Linked DNA regions of Homo sapiens: region 1 is linked to region 2. The links are contacts of gene promoters, found by promoter capture Hi-C in human tissues and cell types (Jung and others, 2019). All regions are on one chromosome and are shown on one strand. The core of a region is centred on a gene start or on the middle of the fragment in contact, and the rest is flanking DNA. Distances in the headings are between cores, read along the strand shown. Region 1 overlaps CFAP92 (cilia and flagella associated protein 92 (putative)). Region 2 holds the start of GP9 (glycoprotein IX platelet).

What was found. The method cuts DNA at HindIII sites, captures the fragments that hold promoters and counts their contacts. A contact is called where the count stands out against the background at its distance.
Region 1: a contact is called between a fragment that was not itself captured here and the fragment with the promoter of GP9 in region 2, in 3 of the 25 tissues and cell types used here (IMR-90 fibroblasts, aorta and spleen).

The regions. Positions count from the first base shown.
Region 1 is chr3:128,930,782-128,933,481 of GRCh38, forward strand. CFAP92 (cilia and flagella associated protein 92 (putative)) reads right to left here. Exons shown (of 16, transcript NM_001394090.1): 12 at 1,919-2,216. Among named protein-coding and RNA genes, the nearest start is that of ACAD9, 53 kb to the left of the region's middle. RefSeq lists an enhancer at 1,433-1,934. The HindIII fragment of the contact is 4,812 bases long and covers 1-2,700 here.
Region 2 is chr3:129,059,329-129,062,028 of GRCh38, forward strand. It overlaps GP9 (glycoprotein IX platelet), which reads left to right and starts at 1,451. Exons shown (of 3, transcript NM_000174.5): 1 at 1,451-1,522; 2 at 2,166-2,291; 3 at 2,400-2,700. The coding sequence starts at 2,412. The HindIII fragment of the contact is 8,053 bases long and covers 1-2,700 here.

The DNA.
Region 1 (2,700 bases), core at 114-2,613, 130 kb before region 2:
TATGTGGCATTAACAAAATTATATTAACCCATGAAATGAATATATATTCTTGTACATATCTAAGTGCATTAAGAGGTAGGATAAGGAAGACTGCAAATACTCTCAACATTGTTTGACTTTTTTTGTTTGTTTGTTTTTTTGAGACAGGGTCTCATTCTGTTGCTCTGAGTGCTGGAATGCAGTGGCGCGATCTTGGCTCACTGCAACCTTACCTCCCAGATTCAAGTGATTCTCCTGCTTCAGCCTCCCAAGTAGATGAGATTACAAGTGTGCACCACGACACCCAGCTAATTTTAGTATTTTTAGTAGAGACGGGTTTTGCCATGTTGGCCAGGCTGGTTTCGAACTCCTGGCCTCAAGGGATCTGACCGCCTCAACCTCCCAAAATGCTGGGATTACAGGCATTAGGCACTGTGCCGCATTGAGACAGGGTCTCACTCTGCCATCCAGGCTGGAATGTAATGGCGTGATCTCAGCTCACTGCAACCTGTGCTTCCCAGGCTCAAGCTTCAGTCTCCTGAGTAGCTGGGACTACAAGTACATGCCAGCATGCCCAGCTAATTTTCTGTAGAGACGGTTTCGCCATGTTGCCCAGGCTGGTCTCGAACTCCTGAGCTTAAGCAACCTGCCCACCTCGGCCTCCCAAAGTGGTATGAGATATATATATGTGTGTATATATATATACACATACATGTATATATATGTATGTATGTATATGTATATATGTATATATATGTATGTATGTGTATATATATATATATATTACACAAGAGAAATAAAAATGAATGAAATAGCCAACTAGAGAAGATAGAAAAAAGGAGAAAGGTGTAAGTTTTAAAGTATCATAAAAATAAAAGCTGAAGTTAATGAATTAGAAAAACAGAAAAAGCAGAATTGATAAATCCAAGAACTGATTCTTTTGAAAAAGCTAAAAAGTTTTTTCCACTAATGGAAAAAACAGCCAGGCACAGTGACTCACACCTGTAATCCCAACACTTTGGGAGGCCGAGGCAGGAGAATCCCTTGAGCCTAGGAGCTGGAGACCAGCCTAGGCAACACAGCAAGACCCAATCTCTAAAAAAAAAGTAAAAAAAATTAACCAGGTGTGGTGGCGCATGCCTGCCTACTCAGGAGGCCGAGGTGGGAGGACTGCTTGAGCCCAGGAGTTGGAGGCTGCAGTGACCCATGATCAAGTCATAGTACTCTAGCCTGGGCAACAGAGTGAGACCCCGATTCAAAAAACATAAAAGAAGTCTGTTCTTTGGTTTTCATAAAGACTGCACACATACAAAGCTTACAAGCTTCTAGGAGTCTTTGTTTTAAACTGGAGAATTGCAGGGATGGTAGGGCCTTCACACAGACCACAGGCACACAACTCCAAGTCATACCACAGATGTCTGTGTTTTCATGTCTTTTTGGTTGGCATGGGGTGAGCGAGGTTCTCCTTGCCCATTCAGGCCACACAGCACCAGCCTTCTACCCCCTCACCAGCTTCTCAGTCTCCCATTCTCTCCCTCTGTCATGCAGATTAGTTTATGTCCCATGTTGCTTGGACATCTTATGACACTTATGCCCTGAGCAGCGTAAGCAACATGTTACACACACACACACACACATGCCACAGTTCTTTCTCTACAATGAACTCTGGGAGCCATGGTAAAGGTAATATAGCTAATAGCATTCCTTCTCACCTTTCAGGAAGGACAAGGTTATCTAGGACTGGGAGTGAAGGTTTCTGACATGGCTCAGCCCCACATCCTGCACTTCTTGCCCATCCAGCAGGGTAGCCCAGGCCAGGAGCGCAGGCACGACCAGAGGCAAATGTCCCACTCAGGAATATGCCCTATGCCTCTCAGCAGGCGCCTGGACCGCCCAGGTGAGGCCTGGGAACCCCAAGTTGGGGAGGAAGGCGGCCCACCTGGATGAAACTGTGCTTTTTGTCTTTGTTCTTCATAAGCATGGCACTCCGCCACTGCAGGTACTTCTCCTGGTGGGCGTGGATCTCTAAGGTGAGGGTGGAGTTCCGACTGTGGTAGTCCTCAAGATTGGGGGCAGGCTGAGGTGGTAGGGCAAACAGTTTCTCATCTGTGAGTTCTTCTTGCGAAAGGGGCATCCCAAACTCTTGGCTCAAGTCTTTTATCATAGCAGAGGAGGGCAGCAGGTCCCTCACCGTCACGTCCCAGAGGGTGGTGCTGTTATAGCAGATGTCGTGGATCCTGGAACAAAGAACCACTGCCCCACTGAACCTCTCCTACCTTGCAAGACAGGTGTAATCACTCCCATCCTACAGCAGGAAATGAACACTCAGAGGCTGCTTAGCTGGTCCCAAGTCCTGGAGCTTGTGACTAAAGAGCTCCAATTCCAGTCTGCTGAGCCTGGGCTCCTGGCAAAAGCCTCCTTCTCCATCTTCTCCCCAGCCCCCAGAAGCCAAAGGCTGCCCACGGTTTGCTCTGAGTGCTGCTCTGTTCCTGTGTCCTTAGCCATGCTTCCCCTCCTCCCATACCCCATCGGGACACAGCCCCACCAGCTGCCCATCAGGGATGTAGAGCACAGAGCCTTCCGCACCAGGAGGACATCATACACCGAGCCTCAGGGGGCTGGCTGTTAATAGAGGAGAAGGAGGAGGCTGGAGAGAGAGTCCTCAGCAAAGCTCAAGGACCTCCCCAGCCCCAAAGCCTCCTCCTGGGTGCCCTCTGCCAT
Region 2 (2,700 bases), core at 201-2,700:
CACCTGGCCTGGCAGCTCCAGCACCCCCACTCACTCCAGAACCCCTTACCCACCTGCGTGGGGCTCACTGGTGAATGTGTGCAGGGCAGAGGAGGTGGAACATGCCAAGGCTCCATGGGGAGGGAGGGAAGGGCCAGACAGGCTGAGGCTCCTCTCCATGGTCCAGGCTCCGGTCAGAGTCCCCACTGAGCACATACCAGGGGACCCCCAGCAGCAACCAGGCCCCCGAGCAGGTGTGACATCAGTGGGGGAACAGCACCTTCCCCACCCTTCTCTGAGCCCAGCATCAGTGGGTGGAGGAAGCAGAGCTGGGGCCTGGCAGCCTCTCAGGGCCTCCTAGGAGGGTGAACACCCAAATCCTGCCCTACCCAAATCCAGAACCAGGAGGCGGGGAGAGAACAGGCGGCCTCCCAAGGAAGGACTCACCCTGCTTGGCCATGCAGGAGGAGGAAGGCTGGCCTGAGAAGGATGTGAGACCAAAATAAGAACAAGCACACCCCCACCCCCGTAGGGCCGAGGAATATTCCCGAGGGTCCTGAATGTCAACGAAGTGCGTTTAAAGCCTCCGTCAGCCTTCTGTCTTTGGCTTTTCCTGCCAGGCTTCTGTAACTTCTGTGTTTTTACCCTGTTTTATTTATTTTTTAAGACGGAGTCTCGCTCTGTCACCCAGGCTGGAGTGCAATGGCACGGTCTCGGCTCACTGCCACCTCTGCCTCCTGGGTTCAAGCAATTCTCCATCCCAAAATATATTTATCTTTTAAAGGAAGCTTTATGTCACTAACATAAATGGAAAATGGTGTCCCTCCCCTAAGTAGAATGTGCTCTAGAAGAAAATGTACTGCAAATGTTAAAACCATAGGCCAAAATTCTAGCTAGAGATTCACACTTGGTAGAGGCTCTGCTTCCCAGGCCTACAGCTGTTTGTTAGAAAGAGGCATGGAGAAGCACTAGGCAGGAGCTAAAAACACCATGGCACCAAGAAGAGACTCCGTCCTTGAGTATACAGGAGGAGGGAGGAGAGTTAAAAATGAAGTCACTCTCCCCACCATGGTGTTCTCAGCCAGTGGGAGCTGCCCAGCCCACACCTCTGTGAGGCAGGCAGGACCGGTCACTGCTCCCACTTTACAGATGAGGAAAACTGAGATTCGGAGGAACAACCAGCAGAGCCACGTTTCTCAGGGGTCTCCTAGTTCCCACCTTCTGGGAGCAGGTGAGGGGCCACCCTCAGTCCTCCACAGACCTGATTCCAAAGCCCATCAAGGCACTGGCGGCACAGTGGGACCCCCTTCTATAAACCGGGGTTGAGATGTGGTTCTGTGCCCAAGGCGCGGGCCCCTGAGGGCCTCCTGCCTCTGGAAATAGGCCCCAAGGCTGCACTGGGGGGATAAGCCAGGCTATTTTCATCACTTCCTTCCGCCCGCTCCCGCAGCGGCCACCTCAGCTGTATCCCATAGAGTTGCCACCCAGGCCTCAGCCAGGACCTTTCAGGCCAGACAGGAGCACCTGACCAAAGGCTTCACAGGTAAGTGGCCCTCCGTATTACCCAGCATGGCCTCCCACAGGGAGAGAGGAGGTCAGTTCCTGTCCCTTTAACAAGACAGGGTTGGGTGGGACATTCCCTCTGAGACACCATCTCCTTGGCTGAGTCAAGATGAGTGAGTTGATTTGACACTTATTCACTGGAAACCTGCTGTGGGTAGGGGGAGCTCTGCTGGTGGAGGGGAAACGCCTGTGGGGAAGAACCAAACAGAGGGCCACGGTTGCCGAGACCCGAGTGTGAGTCTGGCCTCTGACACCACACCGGTGGCCCTGGGCACATTGCTTTCCCTCTCTGGGCCTCAGTTTCCCCAAGTCAGTGTTAGCCCAGATGAGTGGTTTTCCAGATGGGGTCCCACTGAGTTCCCCTCCCTGCTCCAGCCAGTGTCCCTGTCCTGCTGTCTTCTGCATCTGGGAATCAGGTAACAGCTCACTTAGCTGGTGGGGGGTGCTGGGCGCAGCCTGCAGGGCCCTCCAAGGCTCTTTCCTAGTCTCTGGGGACTGTGGTCCTGGGCTGGGACTCATTTAGCAGCCATCTGCTCCTCTCATCCCCAAGCAGGGGATGGGGTCTCTGCTAAGGGCCAGGAAGTCCCTTCCCCTTCCCAAAAACAAACTTACCCAATCCACAGCCGCCCTCACCGCCCGGCCTTCTACGGTGTCCAGAGACAGTTAGCCAGGCCTGGGCTGGGCACACTCCACCTTCCCTAGTCACCAGCTGGTTTCCCAGAGGAGAAGGCTGAGACCCGAGAAGGGAGGTGAGTGCACCCCGTCCCATGTCAGGCTCCGCTACATCCCCAGTGCTTGCCGTCCCTGAGGATCGGTCCAGGCTGCCAGGCCCTCCCTCACAGCCCCTCTCTCTGCAGCCAGCCTGTCCCATGCCTGCCTGGGGAGCCCTGTTCCTGCTCTGGGCCACAGCAGAGGCCACCAAGGACTGCCCCAGCCCATGTACCTGCCGCGCCCTGGAAACCATGGGGCTGTGGGTGGACTGCAGGGGCCACGGACTCACGGCCCTGCCTGCCCTGCCGGCCCGCACCCGCCACCTTCTGCTGGCCAACAACAGCCTTCAGTCCGTGCCCCCGGGAGCCTTTGACCACCTGCCCCAGCTGCAGACCCTCGATGTGACGCAGAACCCCTGGCACTGTGACTGCAGCCTCACCTATCTGC